Linked DNA regions of Homo sapiens: all the other regions are linked to region 2. The links are contacts of gene promoters, found by promoter capture Hi-C in blood cells and fetal thymus (Javierre and others, 2016). All regions are on one chromosome and are shown on one strand. The core of a region is centred on a gene start or on the middle of the fragment in contact, and the rest is flanking DNA. Distances in the headings are between cores, read along the strand shown. Region 1 has its middle 18 kb from the start of ZNF331. Region 2 holds the start of SMG9 (SMG9 nonsense mediated mRNA decay factor). Region 3 overlaps ZNF146 (zinc finger protein 146). Region 4 overlaps SPACA6 (sperm acrosome associated 6).

Evidence for each region. Contacts are between HindIII fragments. The CHiCAGO score rates a contact against its expected background, and 5 or more counts as called.
Region 1: a contact is called between a fragment that was not itself captured here and the fragment with the promoter of SMG9 in region 2, in 2 of 17 cell types (total B cells and non-activated CD4 T cells). The highest score is 7.9, in total B cells.
Region 3: a fragment that was not itself captured here is called in contact with the fragment with the promoter of SMG9 in region 2 in 1 of 17 cell types (naive CD8 T cells); the score reaches 6.2 in naive CD8 T cells.
Region 4: a contact is called between a fragment that was not itself captured here and the fragment with the promoter of SMG9 in region 2, in 1 of 17 cell types (naive CD8 T cells). The highest score is 6.3, in naive CD8 T cells.

Annotation. Positions count from the first base shown.
Region 1 is chr19:53,517,857-53,522,382 of GRCh38, reverse strand. It overlaps a transcript of ZNF331 not described here. Among named protein-coding and RNA genes, the nearest start is that of ZNF331, 18 kb to the left of the region's middle. RefSeq lists enhancers at 337-1,110, 1,421-1,620, 1,111-1,884, 1,885-2,659. The HindIII fragment of the contact is 293 bases long and covers 1,106-1,398 here.
Region 2 is chr19:43,752,541-43,756,787 of GRCh38, reverse strand. It overlaps SMG9 (SMG9 nonsense mediated mRNA decay factor), which reads left to right and starts at 1,826. Exons shown (of 14, transcript NM_019108.4): 1 at 1,826-2,134. RefSeq lists a silencer at 2,046-2,405 and an enhancer at 2,636-2,895. The HindIII fragment of the contact is 6,293 bases long and covers 1-2,450 here.
Region 3 is chr19:36,215,949-36,220,061 of GRCh38, reverse strand. ZNF146 (zinc finger protein 146) reads right to left here. Exons shown (of 4, transcript NM_007145.3): 2 at 1,867-1,940. It also overlaps a transcript of ZNF565 not described here. Among named protein-coding and RNA genes, the nearest start is that of ZNF146, 2.9 kb to the right of the region's middle. The HindIII fragment of the contact is 3,004 bases long and covers 1,174-4,113 here.
Region 4 is chr19:51,704,312-51,708,759 of GRCh38, reverse strand. It overlaps SPACA6 (sperm acrosome associated 6), which reads right to left. Exons shown (of 9, transcript NM_001316972.2): 8 at 4,280-4,448; 9 at 3,570-3,670. The coding sequence ends at 3,637. Among named protein-coding and RNA genes, the nearest start is that of SPACA6-AS1, 13 kb to the right of the region's middle. RefSeq lists a silencer at 4,394-4,448. The HindIII fragment of the contact is 7,738 bases long and covers 1-4,448 here.

The DNA.
Region 1 (4,526 bases), core at 3-2,502, 9.8 Mb before region 2:
CGCCTGTGGTCCCAGCTACTTGGGAGGCTGAGGCAGGAGAATCGCTTGAACCTGGGAACCGAGATCGCACCACTGCACTCCAGCCCTGGGCGACAGAGCAAGACTCTGTCTCAAAAAAAAAAAAAACAAAGAAAGAAAATAGGGCACACTTGTCCCCAGACCACAGTTAAAATCAATCAGAAATAAGAGGGCACAGGCATGTGAGTTTTTCAGAGAAATGCTGGAAAACTCTAGGAACTGGGGTTCTGAAACATGGAGCTGCCCCTCTCACCACCTCCCCGCCTCCCATGTCAGGTACCTCTTTCTTCCCCAAAAGGAATTCTATTCTTGAGGTTACTTCCTCTTGTCGTCCAGGTAGTGTGCACGGAGAGCACTTCTGGCTCCAAAACTGCCATCTCGTGACTTGTGAAGCCTTCTTCTTGGTCATTTTCACAATAGCGTAGAGCCTCTCACGTCACTTTGGGACCACTGCTCCCTAGCAGGTACCACATGGCTGGAAGGCCAAGGCACAGGAAGCAACGGAGACACTAGAAAGACAGGTGACATGGTCGCACACACCTGTGCTCACTCAAAAGGCCATGCACCCAGGCCCGATCCCGACCAGTCACAGCCGCACACTCGCTGGCCCTTTCACACCCACAGACGCTCACACCAGAGGGACACTGCCTGTCCCTGTCAACCTGACAGAAGTGCAAAGGCACATTTCAGAGACACGGAGACCCGTCCTGGCCGTGCCACCTCTGCAGACCCCACCAGCATTGACCTCGCACAGAACGGAGGTGCAGAGACACAGCCCGGCTGCGTCACCCCTACAGATGCCCTTACAGCCCGGCGCTATGGCCCTCATAGACGTCTACACACACCTGTGTCACAGTTTATGGGGACAGAGCCCGGCCGCGTCAACCCCGCATGCATCACGGCTTAGGGGAACGGGGCTTGTTCGCATTACCCCACAGACGAAGACAATTATCTCAGTCACTGGGCCACGGCGGGGCCCCACCAGGCAGCCTCTGGCTTATTCACACACACACACACACACACACACACACACTCACACACACTCCCACTTCCCTGCTCGCCGCTCCCGAAGCCTCAGGCCGAAGCTTCTTCATTTTAGGGCCTCCGCGTCCCGAGTGGCTCCCTCACCGCCATTCCCCGCGGAACCCTGCCCTGGCTTCCTCCTGGGAGGCAAATAGCTCCCGGCTCGAGGCCTAACCACACCCAGCACATCAGGAGGTGAAACAAGGTCTCAGGCGCAGTTGGGATAAGATCCAGGAGAAACCATTTTTAAAAATCCCGCGAGCATGAAGCACGCCCCTCAGCCGGCCACCCGGCTCGCTCCTCATTGGACTGTGCCCCAAGGCCCTCTGGGAAATGTAATGCGAAACCAGAGAAGCTTCGACGCAGCTGGAAGGGCGCCCGTCAGTGTTTCCCAGCATGCAACTCTACACGGCGCAAATGGAGCCGTGACCCAGAGGCCTCTGGGAAATGTAGTCCATAACCCGGAAATCCACAGAGTTGGAAGCGGCTGTCAGGATTTCCCAGCATGCAACTCTACGCGACCCTAAGGGCGTCCTGCCTTGAGGGCTTCTGGGAAATGTAGCTCATAACCCGGGAATCGACGTATCTGGAAGGGCGCCCATCAGTGTTTCCCTGCAGGCAACTGCACACGGCCCTAATGGAGCCATGCCCCAGAGACCTCTGGGAAATGCTCACTACGCGGGAATCCTTAGCGCTGGAAGCGCGGCCGTCAGAATGCTTTTCGTCGGTGTCTCCTCCCACTGTTAGAGCAGCTGCACCCCCCATAGACTTCTGGGAAAGCGTATTTCAGACTGGCAGAATCTTCAAATGCTGGAAGCCCTGTCGGCCTTCTCCTGCCCTGAAACTTTGCTTGCTCCTAAGGCGCACCACAAAAAATTCCTGGGAAAAGTGGTTCAGGCTCTAGGGGCCTACAGTTATAATTGCTTACAACTTGCATTTGGGATCCGTCCATAGGGAAGGCGTGTCCCCGCGTCCTTCTGGGAAGGAAATGTAGTCTGAAACGACCAGAAATCACGCCTGTAATCTCAGCACTTTGGGAGGCCGAGGCGGGTATATCACCTGAGATCAGGAGTTCGAGACCCTCCTGCCCAACATGGTGAAACCCCATCGCTCTAAAAATGCAAAAATTAGCCAGGCGTGGTGGTGTGTGCCTGTAATCCCAGCTACTTGGGAGGCTGAGGGAAGAGAATCGCTTGAACCCAGGAGGCAGAGGTTGCAGTGAGCCGAGATCACACCACTGCACTCCAGCCTGGGCGATAAGAGTGAAACAATGTCTCAAAATAATAATAATAATAATAATAAGCCCGGAAAGCTTAAAAGCTGTGATTTGGGAAAAGTTCAAAAATTTCCCAGCATGCAACATGGCCCTCCTTAGAAAAGAGCTGTGCCTCCAGAGCGTTCTTGGAAATACAGCCCCGAGCTGGAAATGCCTCTAGAAAGTGTTAGGTAGGGTGTTTACATGTGAGATTTTGGGGACGTTTCAGCACTGCCCTTTCCCCCACCCCCCAGTAGATTGGGGAGCTCCAGGCATGTGTGTAGGGACCTTGAGTAGGTTCCACGGGAGTGACCTGGTCCTGACTGGGTCTGTGCCAAGGCTCTCTCTGTAAGGGCAGGACTTTGCGTTTCGTTCTCTGATGCTGTCCCAGACTTGGGAGCACTGCCTGGCTCTTCAGATGTCTCTGTGAGTGTTACCTTGGTATGGGCGGGAGAGGCCTGGGCTGTATGGCTTGCTGCCCGGCAGGATATTGACAAGATGTTCTTATGATCAGGCGGTTTGGCCCTTTTTCCGGTGGGATCTCATCAGGATGTTCCTTGGACCTTTGCCAAGAAAGATATGATAGGGATGGTTTTTGTAGTTGGGCCTTTGCCCAGTAGGACATGATGAGAATGTTTCTTTAATTGGGTCTTTGTTCGCCTTGTGGTCAGGTGGTTAGGCAGGATATTTCTCACTGCCTGAACCCCTGTGAAATGTTTCACTTTGACCAAGGTCTGCAAAAGAGCAGGGGGCTTCCGAAATGGTGCAATTTAGACAAACACTGGGGTGTGAGATGCTTTGCCCTAAAAAATATATGCTGTTGTTGGGAGAGAATCATTGGTGGGTGTGACTGGATTTGTGATTGTGTGGACTCATCAGGGAGCCTCCTGGAGCTCAGGTAAGGGAGGGCGCCTGTGAGGTTTTTGGCCTTCATTATGACATGGATGAGATTGTATGTTTCTATGAACGTGTGGGTAAGACTACTGTATAGAGTACCCTTGACATAAGTAACTCCATCTTAGAAAAAGACTCCATCTTGCATTCCACAGGGCACTTTGCCAACAGGGACAAGATGTTTTGCTTAATAAATAAATAATAAAGACTGCATCCAACCAGATAAGGATATAAACAAGCACATTCTTCCACCATCTGTCCTCCCCAGAGGACTCTGTGGCCATAAAAGGAGCAAGGCTTCAGTGGCTTGAAATAACCATCTTAACTGCAACCGTCCTGCTGTCATTTGTGATGAGCACTTGGCATCTGCTGCTGAAGCCTCAAAGACTTCTTGCAAGACCAATGGGCCTGCCCAGCCCTGACCAAGGGTTTTGTTACTCTCCTTGGACTGACTTGTTAACCCTTTTCTCCTATCTCTTTTCTCTTGATGTTAAACATTACTTTGTTTATTGTGAAATGTTTAATCTATAACATTTATATATATTGATTAAGTACACTACTATGTATGGTTTGCAATATTGACTGACTTGTGAAGTGGCTTGAGCCTGCGTGTCTATGGCTCTGACTACCAAGTGAAGGGGCAGTACCAAAGAGAATTGCCTTGTATTAGTCAGGGTTCTCCAGAGAGACAGAACTAATAGGATATATGTCTATAGGAAAGGAAGTTTATTAGGGAGAATTGGCTTAGACGATCACAAGGCCCAGTCCCATGATAGGCCATCTGCAAGCTGAGGAAAAAAGAAGCCAGTAGTGGCTCAGTTCAAGTCCAAAAGCCTCAGAAGCAAGGAAGCCAACTGTGCAGTCGTCAGCCTGTGGCCAGAGGCCACAGGGCCCCCGGCAAACCACCAGTGTAAGTCTAAGAGTCCAAAGACCAAAGAACCTGGAATCTGATGTCCAAGGGCAGGAGAAGCAGAAGGAAGCATCCAGCACGGGAGAAAGATGAAAGCCAGAAGACTCAGCAAGCAAAGGTATCCCACCTTCTTCTGCCTTCTGTGTTCTACCTGAGCTGGCAGCCAATTGCATGGTGTCCACCTACATCGAGGGTGGGTCTTCCTCTCTCCATCCACTGACTCAAACATCAGTCTCCTCTGGCAACACCCTCACAGATACACCCAGAAACAATCCTTTACCAGCTGCCTAGGCTTCCTTCAATCCAATCAAGTTGACACTTAATATTAACCATCACAAGCCTCTTTGGGAACTCCAGGCGGCTCATGGCTTTTGTGATTGAAATAGCATCAATCAAAGCCTGACACTGTGGAAAGATACAAACGTG
Region 2 (4,247 bases), core at 577-3,076:
TTGCCCTGACGTGAAACTGGCAATCGTGAGTGATCTGGGGTTGAGAAATTCAGATATGGCCTGAGCTGAAGAAGTAAAATTGGACACTGATAGACATAATACAGAGATGGCCTGTCATGTGTATCTTTATCAAACACCCAGAATCTTTCCCCAGAATCCATCAACAGTGGACTCAAGTCATTCTGGGTGACTGGTGTTTCTACCTGTGGCAGCCTGGAGAGGTGGCTCCACCTGGTACTGGTACTGGGACAATGACAGTAGGGATGAGGCCTGGAGGGGAGAGGGCTGCTCAGAATCTACAACTATCAGCATGGTAGACCACAAAATAATACACAGAGACAACACACAGTACCATTAGGCAACAGGCACTGTTCTATGCACTCTCACCCATTTAATGCTGGCGGCAATGTTGTAAGTAAGGTTATACCACACCCAATTCACAAACAGGGACGTAGAAGTAGAGAGTATTAAGTCACTTGGTCAAGCTCAGCCGCTATTTATATGAACTCAACACATGCTCTTAACTCCAATGCTTTATTATAACAGCAGCTCCAGAAGGAAACCGGGAACCAGTGCTTTAGGAAAGGAAAATGGGAACCAGAGGTGGAAACTTACTTTTATTGTATACAGCCAGAGAGGTTTGAATTGTGTATGTACATGTAATACCTGTTCAAATATAATTTTAAAAAACTTTTTTTTAGACCAGCCACGGTGGCTCACGCCTGTCATCCTAGCACTTTAGGAGGCCGAGGCGGGCGGATCACTTGAGGTCAGGAGTTCGAGACCAGCCTGGCCAACATGGCAAAACCCAGTCTCTACTAAAAATACAAAAAATTAGCCAGGCGTGGTGGACGCCTGTAATCCCAGCTATTTGGGAGGCTGAGGCAGGAGAATCGCTTGAATTTCAGGAGGTGGAGACGGCAGTGATCCGAGATCTCGCCACTGCACGCCAGCCTGGGTGACAGGGCGAGACTCCGTCTCTAAATAAATAAATAAAATAAAAATAAATAAAATTTCAAATAAAAAGCTAGAACCTTCCCATCCACCCACTCTGCCCACTGGGGAACTGCCGACCCTTCCGAATGCGCATGCGCTCTCCAGGCCGCGCCCGTCGCCCAATGTTCCTCTTTGGCGCGCGCAAGACTCCGCCCACGTGTGTTTAAATTTTCGACCCTGGAGCGGATTCCCTTCTCCAACGCGGCCTTCGAGGGTTTTAAACATAGTTCTGTCTCAGACTATTCTGCATCTCCCAGGCCTTAAGGATAAAACTGACACTGGAGACCCTTCAGGGTCTGACCTGCCCATTCTGCTGCCTCACCTCCCACCCAGGTGGACCCTGAATCCAAGCCAGTCTAGACCTCTTCCCCCGGGGTCTTCGCCGCCTTTGCTTAGCTGTTCCCTGGAGTACCCTCGCCTGCCTGTCCTTCAAGGTCCAACCGGACCCGCGCCCTTTCCTAAGTGATTTGAGGCCCTGGCAGTCTCTCCACAGGCCGGGGTGTCTTCCAGGGCGCACGCCAAGTCTGATTCATTCATGTGTTCTTGGCACTCAGCCCAGAACAGTGAAATTCCTCCCTGTCGTCCCACCCCACTGCATCCCGCCAACATCACCGAAGAGGCACAACTCGAACCCCAGATCCGGGCCGCTCTCCCTCCTGCCGGCTCCTCGGCGTATCCATTTCCCTACTCATCTCCCCACCCTCAACCCCCCAACCGCGCGCACGCGCATTGAGTCAGAGCCGCGGCGTCCTCCCGCCTCCCGCTCCGGAACCCGCATGCGTGCTGAAGCCGACCGCCTCCATCCACGCACGCTCAGCCCGGCGAGCGCATTCAGTTCTCGAGCTCCAGCCCTCAGCGCATGCGCAGGACGAGTCGCCTGAGGGAACTGATCTCAGCTCGGGCCCGCGTTACATCCTCCTCCTCTTCTTCCTTCGGCCCAGCTTTCCTTAGGGGCTGCAACCCGGACGCCGAGGCCGGTTTCGGAGTGGGGAGTGCCCATTTTCTCTCCTTCCCACGTTCCTGGCCCCCAGACGCCATTTGCAGGCGGGTGGCTTGGGTCAGCCTCCCCGCCCCCACCCGACTCCCGTCACGGGAGAGCGCACACCGCGCCCCGAGAACCAATCAGCAGCCGCGTTAGGTAAGGGGGCCGCGAGCCCGCGCGAGGCTAGCGCACCGGCGGCGGGCGGGGCGCTCCGGCAGGCCCCGCCCCCGCCTTGGCCATTGAAAGGTCGCTGGGACGTCCGGCGGGGGTGCGGCACTGAGTAGGGGGCCGGCGACCGTCAATTCGATACTGGGTTGGCAGGAATGGGGGCGGGGGACGGAAATAACGTGTAAATGAGAAACTTATGCTCTGCGAGATCCAAGTACAGCCTGCAAACTGCCCGTCAAGTACTGGGGAGGCCGCCCCAATAACGTGTAACGAGAAACTTGAGTTGGGTTCCCCGAGGGAAGCTTTGTAAAGCAATGCCTAAATCCGGGGGAGGCTCCCTTCTAGAACCCCGTAGAGAGAAGTTTAAATCCTAGGGAGTCCTTAGGAAAATGTGCAAATCGACTACAGTTCTGGGCTGGGGAGTGCCCCACGAAGTGGGCTTACATACTCAGGAATCGGGAGAGTCTCCCCAAATATTTGCAAATAGTGAGGTTCTGGGAGATCCCCGAAGGGAGTGTGTGAAGCGATGCCTAAATACTGAGGAGACACTCCCCAAAAATATGTAAATTCGATTTGTTAATTTTCGGGAAGTCACCCTAGAAGTCCATCAGCAGACACTTAAATAGACCAGCTTTCCTAAGTTTGGGGGTAATCCCCAAAGGAGCCCGGAAACAGCATTGGAAGTCCCCAGCTTGCATGTGGGTGGGGTTTTTTTTTTTTTTCTTTGAGACAAGAGTCTCGCTCTGTCGCCCAGGCTGGAGTGCAGTGGCACGATCTCGGCTCACTGTATCCTCCACACCTGGTTTAGGTGGGCTTTTAAGTTCCAAGGAACTCCCCACATTCAGATACTGTGGAAGCTCCCAGAATAAAGGGCACAGGGAGGCCAGGTGCGGTGGCTTACCCGGGGAATCCGATCACTTTGGGAGACCGAGGCTGGCGAATCACTTGAGGCCAGGAGTTCGATACCAGCCTGGCCAACATGGCGAAACCCCGTCTCTACTGAAAATGCAAAACTTAGCCCGGCCTGGTGGTATGCACCTGTAATCCCACCTACTTGGGAGGCTGAGGCAGGAGAATTGCCTGAACCCGGGAGGCAGAGGCCGCAGCCAGCTGAGATCGTGCCACTGCACTCCAGCCTGGGCAACAGAGCAAGACCGTCTCAAAAAAAAAAAAAAAAAAAAAAGAAAAGCATTCACACAGGGGCGCTTACTTTGCACAGGAAAGGGCATCCTCATAGGCCAGTAAACAGAAACCTCAGGGCTGGGCAGTATCCCAATTGAGGCATGAAGACAAGTACTTAAGCACTGGGTAGATTTCAGAATAATGTGTAAAGACACTTAATTGCAAGTGAGGGAGGAGTCTCAGATTCTGGGGAGAATCTCCATCCCAGACTAAGCAGTCATTTCGGTATGGAATGAGTCATTTTCCCTAAGCAGCTGTAAACAGGCCCTTGTCCTCCTCTGTCTAGGAAAGCAGTCTTCAGCCTGGCTTGTGGCTCTGGGAGAGGTCATGTAGCACAGTAGGAGAGGAGCTAGACAAGCCACTTGTCTGGCTAGCAAAATTATGACTGCATCTTGTAAACAGACCCTTCCATTCTGGAGAGTCTCGGAGGGACCTGTTTATGTCATTATGAGGTGGGGCAGGGGAGGATTCATGGAGGGATTTAACAGATACTTCCAAGCTAAGCAAGGGTCAGCAAACTGTTTTTTTGAGACAGGGTTCTGCTTTTTTTTTTTTTTAGACAGGGTCTTGCTTTGTTACCCAGGCTAGAGTGCAGTGGTGCAGCATGATCATGGCAGCCTTGACCTCCCAGGCTCAAGTGATCCCACCACCTCAGCCTCCCAAGTAGCTGGGACTACAGGTGCATGTCACCACGCCCAGCTACTTTTTTCTTTTTTAAATGTTATATAGAGACAGGATCTTGCTATGTTGCCCAAGCTGGTCTCGAACTCCTGGGCTGAAGCAGTCCTCCTGTCTCGGCCTCCCAAAGTGTCGGGATTACAGGTGTGAGCCACCATACTCGGCCATTCAGTAAAACTTTCTGTTAAGGCCAGAGAATAATTATTTTAGGCCCTGCAGACTGTATTGTCTGTCTCAGCTC
Region 3 (4,113 bases), core at 1,426-3,925, 7.5 Mb after region 2:
ATGTCAGCCAAAATGAGACAAGAATGACCTGAAGGGGTATCCACTGGCATCAAAAAGTGCAGCTGATTCTAGAACACGCTAAATATACACAACTTTAGGATGATGTTTAAGAAAGAAAAAGCCAGGGGGAAAAAAAGATACAATTTGATGTAACAATGAAACAAATGTAAAAGGAATGAAAAGACAAGAGAAATTAAGACTATACTTCCAGGGATCATTTCTAGTTTGTTCCCAGAAGTTTCTCTTAACGTATAGACTACTACATTTTTACACAAAACAAACAAACAACAACAACAAAAAAAACAGAAAATCATCACTTTACAATACCTGTAGAAATTTACTCATCCAGCCAAGAATTATGTATTGGTTTTAAAACCATCCACTAAATGACTGATGGAGAATGAACCAAAGTAAACATAACATTTTGGTCAAAGGGAAGTAACAATCACCAGCCATCTGGTATATCTCTCCTAATGGTATGCAATTTGAAGTATGTAAGATCACCTCTGATGTATTCTGGCCAAAAATCAATCACAATTAGAATTAAAAAAAAAATCATCAGAGATTCTGAATTAGAACCATGCAAAAGTAATCATAGAAATCAAAGAACAAATCTTCCAAAGGAGCGGATAATGATGACTTTCTAAAGATAAACATAACTCAAACACAGAAATCTAACTTCCAGCCTGGGCAACATAGTAAGACTCCATCTCTACAAAAAAAGGTTTAAAAATTAGCAGGTCGTGGTGGCACACACCTGTAGTCCCAACCACTGCGGGGGTGGGGCTGAGGTGGGAGGATCTCTTCAGCCCAGGAGGTGGAGGCTGCAATGAGATGTGATCGCACCAGTGCACCCAGCCTGAGCCAGAGTGAGACCCCATCTCAAAAATCAAAAAACAAACCTAACTTCCTGATTCCAGTTAAAAAAGGAAATATCCACAGAAAATTTTAAGTGGCCAGGCGCAGTGGCTCACGCCTGTAATCCCAGCACTTTGGGAGGCCGAGGTGGGCGGATCACGAGGTCAGGAGATGGAGACCATCCTGGCTAACACGGTGAAATCCCGTCTCTACTAAAAATACAAAAAATTAGCCGGACGTGGTGGTGGGCGCCCGTAGTCCCAGCTACTTGGGAGGCTAAGGCTGGAGAATGGCGTGAACCTGGGAGGTGAAGCTTGCAGTGAGCCAAGATAGCACCACTGCACTCCAGCCTGGGCGACAAACCGAGACTCTGTCCCCCCCTCCACCAAAAAAAAAGAAAATTTTAAGTAAAAAAATTAAAATATAGAAATATTAGGCCGGGCGCAGTGGCTCACGCCTGTAATGCCAGGACTTTGGGAGGCTGAGGCAGGTGGATCACAAGGTCAGGAGATCCAGACCATCCTGGCTAACGCGGTGAAACCCCATCTCTACTAAAAATACAAAAACAAAATTAGCCAGGCGTGGTGGCTGGCACCTGTAGTCCCAGCTACTCAGGAGGCTGAGGCGGGAGAATGGCATGAACCAGGGAGGCAGAGCCTGCAGTGAGCCGAGATCAGGCCACTGCACTGCAGCCTGGGCGACAGTGAGACTCCATCAAAAAAAAAAAAGAAATATTAATAACAAAAGTGCATCTACATATCTTATTCTTTCAGAAATTCCTACCAGACACAGGACTATAATATTTTCTGAGGAAGCATTTTTTTTGCAGCTAGTAATAAAAAGTACTAGTATTTAACATTAATCAAGTACTTACTACACACTGGGGACTATTCTTAGAACTTTACATGTATTAACTTCTGGAGCTACACAACCACCCTTTGAATCAAATATTGCTATTATTTCTATACTATGAAATGAGCAACTGAGGCCCAAGGTTTAAGTACCTACCTGAGGTCCCCAAGGTAAAAAGTGGCAGAGGAAGGAGTTAACACAGGAAGTCTGGCTCCTTGGCCTATGTCTTCCTTTAATTTAAAAAAAAAAAAAAAAAAATTAGCTCATGCCTGTAATCCCAGTACTTTGGGAGGCTGAGGCAGGCAGATCACATGAGGTCAGGAGTTCGAGACCAGCCTGGTCACCATGGTGAAACCCCGTCTCTACTAAAAATACAAAGCCTTTGCCCTGTCTATTCCAGTACCCCCACCCCAACAGCCAGTTTTATTATTTCGTATGTATCTTTTGAATTTTTTTTTTTTTTTTTGAGATGGAGTTTCACTCTCGTTGCCCAGGTTGGAGTGCAATGGCGCAATCTCTGTTCACTGCAACCTCCGCCTCCCGGGTTCAAGCAATTATCTTGCCTCAGCCTCCCAAGTAGCTGGGATTAACAGGCATGTGCCGCCACGCCTGGCTAATTTTGTATTTTTAGTAGAGACGGGGTTTCTCCATGTTGGTCACGCTGGTCTCAAACTCCTGACCTCAGGTGATCCGCCTGCGTTGGCCTCCCAAAGTGCTGGGATTATAAATACATATTCTTATTACCCCTTTTCTTATTCCAAATGCATCGTGTATCATACTCTACATTCTGCACCTTGCTTTCTCTCAGTTAACAATACATTTTGAAGTTATTTCTGTCTCAGTATATAAAGAGCTTCCTCCTCATTCTTTTGTACAGCTATGTATTATTTTGTTGTATCGATGTACACCAATCTCCCACTGATGGGCATGAACTGTTTTTCTTTTCTTTCTTCTCTCTCTCTCCTTTCTTTCTTTCTTAAGACAGGGTCGGCCAGGCACCGTGGTTCATGCCTGTAATCCTAGCACTTTGGGAAGCCGAGGCGGGCCGATCACTTGAGGTCAAGAGTTCAAGACCAGCCTGGCCAACATGGTAAAACCCTGTCTCTACTAAAAATACAAAAAAAGTAGCCGGGTGTGGTGGCAGGCAACTAATCCCAGCTACTCGGGAGGCTGAGCCAAGAGAATCGCTTGAACCTGGGGGGCAGAGGTTGCAGGGAGCAGAGATTGGGCCACTGCACTCTAGACTGGGCAAGAGAGAGAGACTCCATCTCAAAAAAAAAAAAAAAAAAAAAAAAAGACAGGGACTGGCTGTCCACCAAGCTGGAATGCTGTCGCCAGGATCTCTGCTCACTGCAGCCTTGACCTCCTAGGCTCAAGTGATCCTCCCACCTCAGCCTCCCAAGCAGCTAGGACTACGGGAGATCTCACTATGTCGCCCAAGCTGGTCTCTAACTCCTGGACTCTAGCCATCCTCCTGCCTTGGCTCACAGGTGTGAGCCACCAAGCCCGGCCTGAGGCTTTATATTTAAAATGTGTTGGGTCCCCATCTCCCCACACCTCAACGCCTTTTCTTTCTCAGTCTGTACTGGCTCTTGCAGCTTGTCTCTTTCCATAGTAAGTCTAGGATCAGTTCCCCTAGTTCCAAAAGAGAAAAGCCTGTCCATACTTTTATTAGGATCACATTATTACTATTATTGAGACGGAATCTCGCTCTTGTCCAGGCTGGAGTGCAGTGGCGAGATCTGGGCTCACTGCAACCTCCGCCTCCCAGGTTCAAGCGATTTTCCTGCCTCAGCCTCCGCGGTAGCTCAGATTACAGGCGCCCGCCACCACGCCCGGCTAATTTTTGTATTTTTTTATTTTATTTTTTTTTAGTAGAGACAGGGTTTCACCATGTTGGCCAGGCTCCTCTCGAACTCCTGATCTCAGGTAATCCACCCATCTCGGCCTCCCAAAGTGCTAGGATTACAGGCATGAGCCACCGCACCCGACCAAGATCACAGTAAATTAATACATTCACTTAAGTTTGCGCACACTTCTTAATGTCACATGGTATATTTATTTGTTCACATTTGTTATGCCCCTTAGTAGTATTTTAAAGTTCTTTCCTAATAGTTCTGAACCTTTAAGTTTCTTCCACAATACTTTATCTTTTTACTGCTATTGTAAATATTAGTTTTCTTCAACTATGTATTCTAACTGATATTTGTAAATTAGAAGGCTATTTATTTATAGATATTAACTTGGTACCCAATTACTTTATTTAACTTTTTGTAATTTAAAACTATGTCAATGACGACAGCGGGGGCGGGGTGATTTCCTTAGAAAACGCATCTTTGGAGACGTCAGTAGCATTCTCCATTACTTCACAAAATCCATACAACCTGAGAACGCCTCGACTCA
Region 4 (4,448 bases), core at 1,130-3,629, 8.0 Mb before region 2:
TGCCTCCCAGGTTCAAGCAATTCTCGTGCTTCAGCCTCCTGAGTAGCTGGGATTACAGGCATGTGCTACCATGCCAGGCTAATTTTTGTATTTTTAGTAGAGACAGGGTTTCACCATGTTGGCCAGGCTGGTCTTGAACTCCTGACCTCAGGTAATCCACCCGTCTCGGCCTCCCAAAGTGTTGGGATTACAGGCATGAGTCACCTCGCCTGGCCACCTGGAACACTCTTCACACAAATATCCATAATGGCTCATACCGTCATCCCCTTCAAGTTTTTATTCAAACGTCACTTTCTCAGTGAGGGCTTCTCCACAGATCCTACTGCTACTTCCCTCGGCCCCATATTCCATTTCTCTGCTTATCTTCTCCATCACACATATTACCATATTTCGTATTTTACTGTTTTCTTATTGTCTGTGACATAGTAAGAAATACATATTTGGTGTTTGTCCCTGGTTTCTGACAGTCTTATACCCTTGTACTTTCTGGAGTGATGTGGGCAACAGAAGCGTCTTACATAGAGCTCCTAATCTCTTGAATTTCCTGGGTGATAACAGCATCGTTTGTTCTATTCAAGTGACTCTTGGTGGTCTCCTGGAAGAGCGCTGGTCACCAGCAAGACTAGGCTATGATTAGGAGCTTGGAGCTTTCGGCCTCACCCGCTGCCCCCTCCAGTCCTTGGGGAGGGAAAAAGGGGTGGAGACTAAGTTCATAAGCAATCATGCCTACATGGTGCAGCCTCCAGAACAATCCCTAAACTATGGGGTTTGCAGAGCTTCCAGGCTGGTGAGTGCATCCACGCACTGACAGGCCGCTGCATCCCAGCTCCCATGGAGACAGAAACTTCTGCACTTGGGACCCTTCTGGACCTCACCCTATCTACCTCTTCATCTGGCTATTAAGCTATTTCCTTCATACTCTCCTTTATAATAAACCAGTAAATATGTTTCCCTGAGTTATTCAAGCTATTCTAGCAAATTACTGAGCTGGGGGGCTGCAGGTTGCAGGAGCCCCTGGCTTGCGACTGGTGTCTGAAGTGGGGGCAGTCTTGTGGGCCTGAGCTCTTAAAACCTGTGTAGTGCGACGCTAACCCTGGGTTGTTGATTTTAGAATTAAATGAATTATAGGACACTCAACTGGTGTCCGGGAGAGTTGGAGAACTGGTTGGTATGGGGGCAGGAGGTAGAATCCCATACATGTAGTGTCAGAAATGTTGAGAGTAGAGAAACAGTTTTCTGGCCAGGCGCGGTGGCTCACGCCTATAATCTCAGCACTCTGGGAGGCTGAGGCAGGCAATCACTTGAGGTCAGGAGTTTGAGACCAGCCTGGCCAACATATTGAAACCCCGTCTCTACTAAAAATACAAAAATTAGCTGGGCATGGTGGCACACGCCTTTGTAGTCCCAGCTACTCGGGACACTGAGGCACGAGAATTGCTTGAACCCAGGAGGCAAAGGCTGCAGTGAGCCAAGATTGTGCCACTGCACTCCAGGACTCCATCTCAAACAAAACAAAAAAAAAAAAAAAAGGGAGAGAGAGAAACAGTTTTGTTTTACTGTCCACTAGAATGTAAGTTCCATGTGAGTACTGTACAAACTTTTTGTCTCTTCTGATTTCTTCATTGGGATCTCTACAGTGCCTTGAAAATACATGACAAAATAGTAAGCACTCAATAAATATTTGCTGAATGAGCAAATCAATAAAGGGAAATAGACCAGTGAACAAGAATGAGTACATGCTCAAAAGGAGCTTCCCTTTCAGGTAGGAAAGGCAAAACCAAATTAAAAAATGAGTTAACGGCTGGGAGCGGTGGCTCACGCCTGTAATCCCCTAGCACTTTGGGAGGCTGAGACAGGTGGATCACCTGAGGTGAGGAGTTTGAGATCAGCCTGGCCAAAATGGCGAAACCCTGTCTCTTCCAAAAATACAAAATTAGCCAGGTGTGGTGGCGCATGCCTGTGTTCCCAGCTACTCGGGAGGCTGAGGCAGCAGAATCGCTTGAACCCGGGAGGTGGAGGTTGCAGTGAGCCGACATCGCACCATTGCACTCCAGCCTGGGCAACAAGAGCGAAACTCAAAAAAAAAAAAGAGTTAACATTAGGTCCAGATGAGCTCAGTGAACAAGGTGAAATTGGGCAATGTCAAACAGGGAGAGAGAGGTAGTTAGAGAAGGAGACATTTGATCTGGGATCTGTGCAATGAGAGAGGTGGGTTTGTGATACTCAGAGGAAAGTCATTTCAAGTATGAAGCACAGCAAAGGCCTGGAAATGGGACTGAGACTTGCATGTTCCAGGGACCTAATAAGGAGGCCACTGGGGCTGGAAAGTAGCAAGGGGCCTGAGGGAGAGGTAGAGTCAGTTAAGTCAATACAGTGCCAGCCGCGCAGACTTGTCAAGGGGATTAGCGGGGTTAATAGATGTAATGGCTACTCAGGGGAAATCATAAGAGTTAACTAGACAAAAAAAAGGAGAAAATATTATTCTAGGCAGGAAACAGTGTGAACCAAGACCCTAGAGAGGGCAAGAAGTATCATGATGAATGCGAGGAAGGAGGAAAGGCCAGAGAAAAACCGCAGGGTGGCAAGATCAAGGAGGAAAGGGGTATGGGACAAGGCTGCTGGTGAGGTCAGCAAAGGCCAGACCTGTGGAACCTCTGAGGCTTTGACAAGGAATTGGATTTTGTCTCAATGGCAACAGGGAGTCACTAAAGGATTCTGGGTAGAGGAGTAACCCAATCTGACACACTTTAAAACCTAAGTCCTTGGCCGGGCTTGGTGGCTCACGCCTGTAATCCCAGCACTTTGGGAGGCCAAGGCAGGTGGATCACTTGAGGTTAGGAGTTCAAGAACAGCCTGGCCACATGGTGAAACCCTGTCTCTACTAAAAATACAAAAATTAGCCGGGTGTGGTGGTGGGCACCTGTAATCCCAGCTACTTGGGAGGCTGAGGCAGAAGAATCGCTTGAACCCGGGAGGTGGAGGTTGCAGTGAGCTGACATCACATCACTGCACTCCAGCCTGGGCCTTGGAGTGAGATGGTGCCTCCAAAAAAATAAAATAAAATAAAACAAGTCCTGCTGGTATGTAGAGAATGGGCTACAGTGGAGAGAGGCCAAGGAGGTGGTGGGGGGCTGCTCCAGTGATCCAGACATGAGGTGGGGGTGACTGGGACCACAGAGAAGGCAGCTTCATGAGATATTTAGGAGTTAAAAAGTCTGAGGGTTGGAAATGAAAATGAATTGGAAGTGGAGGAGAAGTTAGATTCCAAGGTTTCTGGTTTGAACTGCTAGGTGGATGGTGTTGCTCTTTCTGGTAGGAGGAAAGCCTTGGGGAGGAACAGCCTCTGAGGGCAACATGGAGGACTCTATTTGAGGGTGCCTTCTGCAGATGGAAATGTCAAGGAGACAGCCAGTAACCTGAGGGGGTATCTGGGTTCCCACCTAACTTGCACTGGGATAGCTATGCCTATCACTGTCATTATGCGGGCCATATTCATCTGGGCATGTGTGGGCTTGCTGCACCTCCTCCTACCTGAGTTAGTAGTGACCACCTTCGGAGATGAAACAATCTAGAGTTGAAATATATTCTTTATTTTCAGGATGGAAATAGGATAGGGAAGGAGGAAAGATACCTTTGTTAGTTGCCACTGCAGTACCATCGAAAGAACATCCTGGGGAAACAAAGAGGTATGTGTGTTACAGGAGGGGTTGGTGACTAGAAACTTAGGTCCCGGAGCCTGGACACCAGGGTCAAAAAGGTGTACAGGGCCCGGACTCCTGGTTCTGAGGGAGGAGGGGGCAGGGGGCCTGGGCTTTTGGGTCTGAAGGAAGAGAAACTTGGGGGTCTGGACTCTTGGATCTGAGGGAGGAGGGGCTGGGGGCCTGGACTCCTGGGTCTGAGGGAGGAGGGGGTCCGGGGGCTTGGACTCTTGGATCTGCGGGAGGAGGGGACTGGGGACTTGGACTCCTGGGTCTGAAGGAGTAGGGGTTTGGGGCCTGGAATCCTGGGTCTGAGGGAGGAGGGGCTGCGGACCTGGACTCCTGGGTCTGAGGGAGGAGGGGCTGGGGGCCTGGACTCTTAGATCTAAGGGAGGAGGGGGCTGGGGACTTGGATTCCTGGGCTAGTAAAGAGGGGCTGGGACCTGGACTCGTGGGTCTGAGAGAGGAGGAACTGAAAGCCTGACCTCCTGGGTTGGAGGTTGCTGGGAACCCAGACTTCTCGGTGGGATCTGAGACAGCGGGGAGCTAGATGCTGGGGCTCCGGAGTCCCCAGAACTCACCACGCCAACACTGTCGCACTCGCTGATGCGAGGGCCCCGAGGACTGCAAGCAGGAACAGATTGCTGGGCGTCAGAGCCTCGGGCCTGGCCAGCAGCTCGCCCAGGCTGGGCCTCCAGGGCTCGATCAGCTCGGCATCCCGCGGCGCCCAGCGCAGCACTTCCCGGAACG